Regions from separate parts of the Homo sapiens genome. Here regions 2 and 3 are each linked to region 1. Evidence: promoter capture Hi-C in human tissues and cell types (Jung and others, 2019). All regions are on one chromosome and are shown on one strand. The core of a region is centred on a gene start or on the middle of the fragment in contact, and the rest is flanking DNA. Distances in the headings are between cores, read along the strand shown.

Region 1 (2,738 bases), core at 144-2,643:
AGCCAAGAGTTATTTACCAGGCAAACGTATCTTTGGAGGAAAAGCCACAAAAAAGCAGCAAGGCAAATAGTCAAGACGGAGATGAACTTCTTTGGCAGGTAAGTAATAACTAATACCATTTATAGTAGGCGTTTTTCGTGCCAGGCACTATGTTAAGTACACTTTCACGTCAGGTTTAATTCTTTGCAACAAAGGTGCTATCGTTATTCTCACTTAGCCAATGAGGAAACTGAGGCTCAGGAAAGCGAAATGGATTACTCAAGTCCCATGGTGGCTCAGATTTGAACTCAGGCATGTCAGGTTCCAAGACCAGCTACACATGGTTTTCTTCATCCGGAAAGCCAATGCCCAGCTCCACCGGGGCGGCGACTCAGCTCTGAAACCACGCCCCATCGCACCCACCCCCGCGAGGGTCCCTAACCCCTGATATTTATTTTAAACATGTCATTGTCTTCCGTTTCACCCAACCCCCACTCTTCTACCCTCTCCAGGAGCCCGACCCTACGTTCTGGCTTCCGTTAGAGCAAAAAGTAACGTTCCACTCAGAGCAACGTCCTGCAGCTAAGAGTAAGGCTGGGGGGTGGGGGGTGGGGGGTTGGGGGTTGGGGTGGAGGAAGTAGGAAACGAGCAAATGGTCGGCGAACGCTTTGACCCACCAAGCCCTTTAAATGCACTTAACCACCGCCCGGGACTACGGTCGCTTCACACTGCGTGCGCAGCCCAAGTTCTAGGAGACCGGTTCGCAAGACCTTAAACCTCAGACGCGCTGGCCCTCAGCGGTTAGAAGCGGACGCGTCTCTTGCCGGGCGGGGTGCGCGCCCAAGGGCCACCCACTGAGCGCGGGTATAGACGCGGCGAGCCACGCACTGGCTCCGAGTTGTGTGCGGGAAAGGGCTGGGCCGCTGCGGGACAACCTCCCAGGGGGCAGGCAGGCTGGCTCTGCCTGGCAGGCAAAATCGGGACCGGCCAGCGCTCCCGGCCGCTGTCCGGCCTTTGGCGGACGCACGTGCCTAGGGCTTTCCAGCGCTGCTAGCCATCCTGCAAACGACTCAAGTCTCCACGCCGCCCGCACTTCGGGTGCGCACGCCACGCAGGAACGTCCCCATGGCCCTCAGTTATCCCAGGTGCACAAAATCAGGGGCTTGCCCAAGCGGGCAACGCCTAGGCAGGCCACCAGTTAAGGCAGCGCTAGGCTGCGGAGTTGGAGAGGGTCGGCCCGCGCCCGCCTGCGTCCAGCACCCACCGCGCCCGCCCCTCGGGTTCGCCCGCCCAGCCCTCACCGGCACGCGGCGAGCGTCCATGCTGGTGGCGGGTGCCCAGATCGGCGCTTGGAGCGGGGAGAGCGGAGCAGCCGCGCGGTCAGCGGTCCCACAGCAGGAGGAGCAGCAGCAGCGCGGCTGGCAGGCTGGGCGCGCCGACCCGGGCCCGGAGGGGCGGGGCTCGGGCTGTCTTTCCCGCGTTGGGACACAGGTCCTGCAAGCTGTGGTAACGGCCAGACATGGCGCAAGACTAGGTGGCCCCCTGGAAAAAACACGACCCCCCTATATATTCTGACCTCAAAGGATAGCCTTGGGCACTCCTAAAATCCCCTTTGAGAAAGGGGGGCTTTAGGGGCTACGGGGACCACTCTCCTTGTGCAGCTGCGCGGTCCTGAGCGAGTGGCGCGAAAATGGTTCGTATTGCCCCGGGGTTAGCTGTCTGATTTGCAAGAATTTTCGTGGTGGCGGAGGAAAAGTGGAGTCTGGGGGGTAAAGGAGAGCAGCGTGAGGGTGGCGCGGGTCACGCACCATGGCGTTTAGCACTTTCATTGCTGCGTGCGGTTTACAAGATTTAAAAAATCATAGAATCCAGCACGAACTCCACCCTTCATAATCGAGTTCACCGCCCCTGGATGTAGCACCTCTTATCTGGGAACCACACCATTATCTGAAGCAATAAAATGAGTTAAATCCTGATCTTTCTTTCCAAAAAGCACAGGAAGCCGACTTGTTTACTTGTGGTTTTCAAAGTAGAAGAAAAGCCGCAGCAGCTTGATGAAGACGTCTATAGTATAGTTAACCTTTAACGATTATCTGTTGGGGATTGAAACTAAAGATTGAACAATTGTGGCTTGATGATCTTCTCTGTCTTCAGAATTGAGAACTACCCTGAGTCAGTGCGAACGAGAAAACTTTTCATTGCCCTTTTAACCAAACTTGGCATTACAACGAAAAAATGAAATAAAGCGAGGCTTTTTGTGTGCGTGAAGAGCAAAACTTGCTTCTACAAGAAAAAGTAAATTTAGTTTCTTTAGAAGACACTAATTATACTCTTAACATTTAAAACAAGCGCTTGAAATGAAAACATTCGCATTTCCCCCTCATTTCAAAACTTTTCTCTGGGGAATAATTAATTCCTTTGCAGTAAGAGAGTGCATGGACATACTGTGTTCCTCTCTTGGTGTACTGAATACAAAAACTGTGAGCAAGTAAATAATGCCCGAGGACAATGGATTGGAAGGAGTCTTCCAGCCTTTCTTAAATATACCTACCCAGTAATCACTCTGCCACTGTGCAAGGGACAAAGAGCTCAAGGTCTAGAAGGTGAGTGCCAGGAGGAGAGGCTATCGGTGGGTGGTGAAATTACGGAATTACAGGGCCCTCAGTAAGTATTTGTTGAATGAATAAACATTTGGGAATATAATTTTGTGCCACTAAAGCTAAATATATGAAAATTTGGAATTACTAGATCCATGAAGC
Region 2 (2,738 bases), core at 110-2,609, 1.2 Mb before region 1:
TAGTTTCTGTCTTCCATTTAGAGTGTTTGAATTTGTAAAAACAGATAACAGAATAAATTTTTCAAGGTCCATCTATTGTGAAAAGCAAAATTTAAAAAATCATAACTTGAAATAAGGCACTGCAGCTTCCAGGTTTTGACTAATATTAACCAAAAAAAACAAAAGAAAGAGAAAGAAAGAGAGATGAAGATTAAAGCAGATATCTCAGGGTTTTTACCATCTTTAAAGTAATAACGTAAAGACTTTAAGCAAATGTATTCTTTTCTGTTATTCAGTTAGTTCCCATTTGGCAACTGCTTAATTATCTCATGGTCCCATTTCAATGTCGAGAGATTGCAAGCTTTTAACAGAAATTCAGGTTGAGAAGGAACTATGAAAAATAGAAAATATTGTTGCCAAATACCATGGCAACAACTGTAGCCTGCAGACCTTTTCACGATACTGCATCTTTCCCCTACCTATTGTCTAGCCTTGGCAGTAACCATTTTTATGGATTAGGTTCTCTTGTGGCTTCATCTCACTTTTCTACCTCTTATTCTTCCTTTGTTTCATTTTTGTTCCTTATTTTAAATGTTTTTTTTCTTGCCATACCTCTGTAGGATAATTTAACACAATGAAATCCTTTTGGAACAAGCTGGGTTATAAATAAATTAATAATAATGCTAATGTACTGTCTTGTAATTGCACTAATGTGTGGGTTTGGATGAAATTGACATTTTGAAGGTAGTATCTCATATAGTAGTAAACTCAGCATGTCAGAACTCAGAGCTAAATATGCAAAACAGCGACAGTGCTGAAAAAAATCTTGGATCTCGGTGTAATAGTTGAATGTCTTTGGATGCAAATGATGGAAATGGATTCTGACTAACAGAAGCAAAAAGAGACTTTTAACAGGGTGCTAGCTAGGAACTCAGGATAGATGGGAGGCTGGAGAGCCAAATCAGGACACAAGACAGGAATGAAGGCAATTCCTGGAGTCCAGGCAGCATGAACAACTGAAGGATCTTATCTGGGTGCTGCTCCTCCAGTATATGTGTTCCAATATTTTCCCATTCCTTATGCGCCTCCACTCAAGATGAAAAGTTCCAAGAGTACAGTCTGCTTGATGTTTGCTGGGCATTCACAGATTTATAGTACTAAAAATATGTGAGACCAGGTGCAGTGGCTCATGCCTGTAATCCCAGCACTTTGGGAGGCCAAGGCAAGAGAATCACTTGAGTCCAGGAATTCGAGACCAGCCTGGGCAACATAGTGAGACAGTGTCTCTACAGATAAATAAATAAATAAGTTAGCCAGGCGTGGTGGTGCACATCTGTAGTACCAGCTACTTGGGAGGCTAAGGTGGGAGGATTGCTTGAGCCAGGGAGTTCAAAACTGCATACAGTGAGTGGTGATCGCACCACTGTACTCCAGTCTGAGTGACTGACAGAGATCTTCTCTCTCTAAAAAAAAAAGGAAATTTAGTATGGAATGAAAGCTCTCTTGAAAGTTTGCCAAAACATAAAATAGCATACATTTGGGAAAAGAAGTTATCCCAGGAGTCCAGTTGTCTTACTTTGGGTCACATGTAGCTCCTTGGTTGCAGAGAGGAGATGAGAAATATTGAGTTACATTCCGATCAAGACTGTCCTCCAACTGGAAGATGCAATAGGAAATTGGGGTACTCCTGGGAAGGGTGCTCTTGGTTGCTGGCCACCGAAAAAACAACGTATGTGCATTACATTACAGCAAGAGTAGATTGTAAGTTTCTGTGTTGTATTCTAAAGCTCTAGCGTGGGGCAAGTAGTGTCTCTGAAAAGTGCATATCCATGCAGAACCTCAGAATGCAACTTTGTATAGAAATAGAGTTACTGCTGATGTTATTAGTTAAGGATCAAGACGAGACCTCACTGGATTAGAGTGGACCGTAAATCTAATGATTGTCTTTATAAGAGTCAAAACAGCAAGCACAGAGACACACAGAGAAGCAAGTGATGTGAAGACGGAGGCAGAGATTGGAGCAATGCACCCACCAGGCAAGGAACACCAAGGATTGCCGGGTCGCCAAAAGCTAAGAAAGAGGCATGAGGAGGTTTCTCCCTCGGAGCTTCTAGGAGGAACTAAGCTTACCCACACTTTGATTTGGGACTTCTGGCCTCCTGAATGGTGACAGAATACATTTCTGTTGTTTTAAGCTACTCATTTTGTGCCACTTGGTTATAGCAGCCATTGGAACCTAATGCAACCCCTAAGAGCAGATTTTTTGGCAAAACCCTAAGAAGTAAAACCATGAGAATAAGCACATGGTAAATGCATTTTTGTGACTGTGAATACAAATGCATTTTTGTGACAGTGAACCTAATGCAACCCCTAAGAGCAGATTCTTTGGCAAAACCCTAAGAAGTGAAACCATGAGAATAGGCACATGGCAAATGCATTTTGTGACAGTGAATACATTTTGTGACAGTGTATTCCTTTTTATTTCAAAAGAGAATAAATCTATGAATGGTTTAGTTCATTTATGCCACAAAGAGCTATTGAGTCCCTCTTATGTGCTGGGACATTCTAGGACCTGGAAATACAGGGGTGAACCAATGGGACAGACTCACTAATCTCAGAGGGCTTGTACTCAGAGGGTTAACAGTAAACAAGACATATTGGGGTTGAGATCAGAGCCAAGAGGAGAGCAAAGCCGGATGATGTGACCTAACATGATGGACAGGAAGTGGGGAGCCCGTTCAGATTGGTGGTCAGGCAAG
Region 3 (2,738 bases), core at 190-2,689, 1.0 Mb before region 1:
CAAGTTACTTTATCTCTGAACCTCAGATATCTCATTTGTAAAATGAGCACGATAGCCCATGAGGTTATTGTGAGAATTAGTTAAGGTGTGATTAAAGTATGTTAGGTACTTCCAATGAATTATAATTTCCTACTTCTTCCCTTCTCCCAAATAATAATATCTGAAAGCTGGGCATGGTGCCTGTGCTGGTAATCCCAGTTACTCAGGAGCTGAGGCAGGAGAATGGCTAGAGGCCAGGAGTTCAAGACAAGTATAAGCAACATAGCAAGACCCTAGTCTCTGAAAAAAAAATTTTTTTTAATTAAAAATTAGCCAGGTGTGGTGGCACGTGCCTTTGATCCAAGCTACTTGGGTGACTTAGGTGGGATGATTGCTTGAGCTCAGGAATTCAAGGGCACAGTGAGCCATGATCACACCATTATACTCCAGCCTGCATGACACAGTGAGATCTCATCTCAAAAAAATAAAAATTAATTAATTTTAAAAAACCAAACAAAACTGAGAGTCATGAAATTGCATGCCGGTACTTTAAACCATTTTGACACAAACTGCAAAGTATCAAAGCCCCCTCAAAAATAGGAAAATAAAACAAGTAAGAGTTACACAAAAATTATAAATTTAGACAAGGTCTGTAGTATAAAATGTAACAAAAAATAACCTGACAAGGTCCATTCCTAATAGTGCTTCTTCATCACAAACTTCTTCTCTTCCCCATACAGCTTCATTCCCAATGCAAACTCCATGCTCATTGGCTCCCATTTCTGCCCCCCACAACCACGCTGGGCGACTCAGGACAACAGCATATGTTTCAGGAACTTGATCAATTTCTATATATGTACACTGTAAAAAAAAAAAAAAAAAAGTCATAGCAAGAACCACAAAACCAGAAAAGTTATCAAAATCCAGAATTTAAAAAAATCAGTCAGAAGACAAAACTGTTATGAAAGAGGTAAAGGAAATATAAGTAAATTGAAATTTTCAATAATAAAGGCATTACCCTTAAAACATATTCAGAATAACCCTAAAATATTTATTCATTCAAATATTTGCTGAGCATTTCCTATTATAAAACATTCTGCCAAGAGATATGTTAGTTACAAAGATGAATCAGATAAAGATCTCACTTTTGAGAAACTAAAACTTCTACATTAAGATAAAATAAAGTATAAAGTATTAGGGTCATGAAGTGAAGACAAGGTGCTATTGGAGCTCAGGAGAAAGATGGTCTCTAGCTGTAATATCTTGAAACATTTTTGTAGATGTGTGAGTTGAAGCTTAAGGAAGTAGTTCTCAACCTCAATATCCAGTGTTTCTTGATTAGTGATATAATTACTCACATGGTAGCCTTCGAATACAAGAGTTTTGTCATAGGAATCTCACATCACATTTTGAAGTCAACCATTAGGTATGCCCACAGCAATGAAAAGAATGAGAACCACTGGTTTACAGGACAGGCTATATTTAAATATGAAGAAATAAAGTGGAAGTGGTATCACAGATGAATAAGTGGTCTTAGCAAAAGAAAAAAATATGGCATAGGATACAGAAAAAAGTCTAATATTTAATATGTTTTAATATTAGAATATCAATAAAATAAAATCTAAAAAGTATGAATTAGCAACAATAGCATAATTTGAAGCTCTCATTTTAAGTTCCACATTAAATGGGTTTTTAAAATAAGTTTTTAAAGGATCCTTTAATTAATGTGTATACTACCAAGTGACTGCATAAAATGTATATTGATAGTGTTAACATAGGGCCTAATAAACCTTTTTTGATGTGTCATAAAACTGTCATTCCTAAAGTCTGGGATGACTTTCCTATTCTACATCAAGTAGAACCTAAGCCAATTCAGAATCAGAATCCTTTTTGTCCATCAAATTCCAGCTAACTCCAAGCTGAATTAAATGTTCATTCTCTTCCGCTGCCACAGCATGCTACTGTTACTTAAATTTAGCATTTAAACCATCCTATTTTATAATGGGGTATAATGCATACACATCTTATTGCTATACTAGACTCTAAGCTCCTGGAACAGAGTCTTGACAGCTGACTTTAAATCTCTTGCCCTATCTAACATGCTTGCATATGGAAAGCATTCAAATATTTATTCAAACAATGGATAATTTTATTATTGTTATTTCAACGTCCTCCGAATCACTGAAATAAAAGATCACAGTTTATTTCTGACTCATTTATTTTTCAAATGTAAACTCCTCAATTTTAACTTCTACAGTTTCTTCCAAATTGCTATGTATAGAAATAACTTTATGATATTTTTAAAAGGCATATTGCTAACAAAACATTTATTTCACCTACCTTAAGACGTTCTCCCAGGTTATCATGAACTACAGCAGGAAAATAAACCACCTCTTGTACTTCATCATAGAGTCTATCTGAATTTTTTCCAAAAATAATCCTGTTATCGACTGTTGCTGGAGGTAATGCCACGAAAGTGTCACAGGAAAAAGGTTCCATTTTTTTTAACTAAAAATTATACAGATGTTTTAAAATAAAAAGAACACTTTTAAGTATATAAAAATAAAGAGTTTTACTCAATGACCAAAGGATATTATTGCCATATCTAATTAAGGATGTTCATTAAAGCTTTGATTTTTTTATTTTTATTTTTTGGAGACAAGGTCTAGCTCTTTCACCCAGGCTGGAGTGCAGTTGTATGATCAGGGCTTACTGCAGCCTGGAACTCCTGGGCTCAGGAGATCCTCCCCCTTCTGCCT

What was found. Contacts are between HindIII fragments. The study calls those that stand out against the background at their distance.
Region 2: a fragment that was not itself captured here is called in contact with the fragment with the promoter of CDCA7 in region 1 in 1 of the 25 tissues and cell types used here (lymphoblastoid cells).
Region 3: a fragment that was not itself captured here is called in contact with the fragment with the promoter of CDCA7 in region 1 in 1 of the 25 tissues and cell types used here (lymphoblastoid cells).

What each region holds. Positions count from the first base shown.
Region 1 is chr2:173,353,527-173,356,264 of GRCh38, reverse strand. It overlaps CDCA7 (cell division cycle associated 7), which reads right to left and starts at 1,393. Exons shown (of 10, transcript NM_031942.5): 1 at 1,281-1,393. The coding sequence starts at 1,301. RefSeq lists a silencer at 1,182-1,451 and enhancers at 2,002-2,091, 1,394-2,349. The HindIII fragment of the contact is 8,581 bases long and covers 1-2,738 here.
Region 2 is chr2:174,519,679-174,522,416 of GRCh38, reverse strand. LOC124906097 (a long non-coding RNA gene) reads left to right here. Exons shown (of 3, transcript XR_007087309.1): 3 at 1-1,194. Among named protein-coding and RNA genes, the nearest start is that of GPR155-DT, 34 kb to the right of the region's middle. The HindIII fragment of the contact is 3,674 bases long and covers 1-2,738 here.
Region 3 is chr2:174,398,024-174,400,761 of GRCh38, reverse strand. It overlaps SCRN3 (secernin 3), which reads right to left. Exons shown (of 8, transcript NM_024583.5): 2 at 2,320-2,487; 3 at 659-840. The coding sequence starts at 2,478. Among named protein-coding and RNA genes, the nearest start is that of SCRN3, 3.7 kb to the right of the region's middle. The HindIII fragment of the contact is 4,447 bases long and covers 1-2,738 here.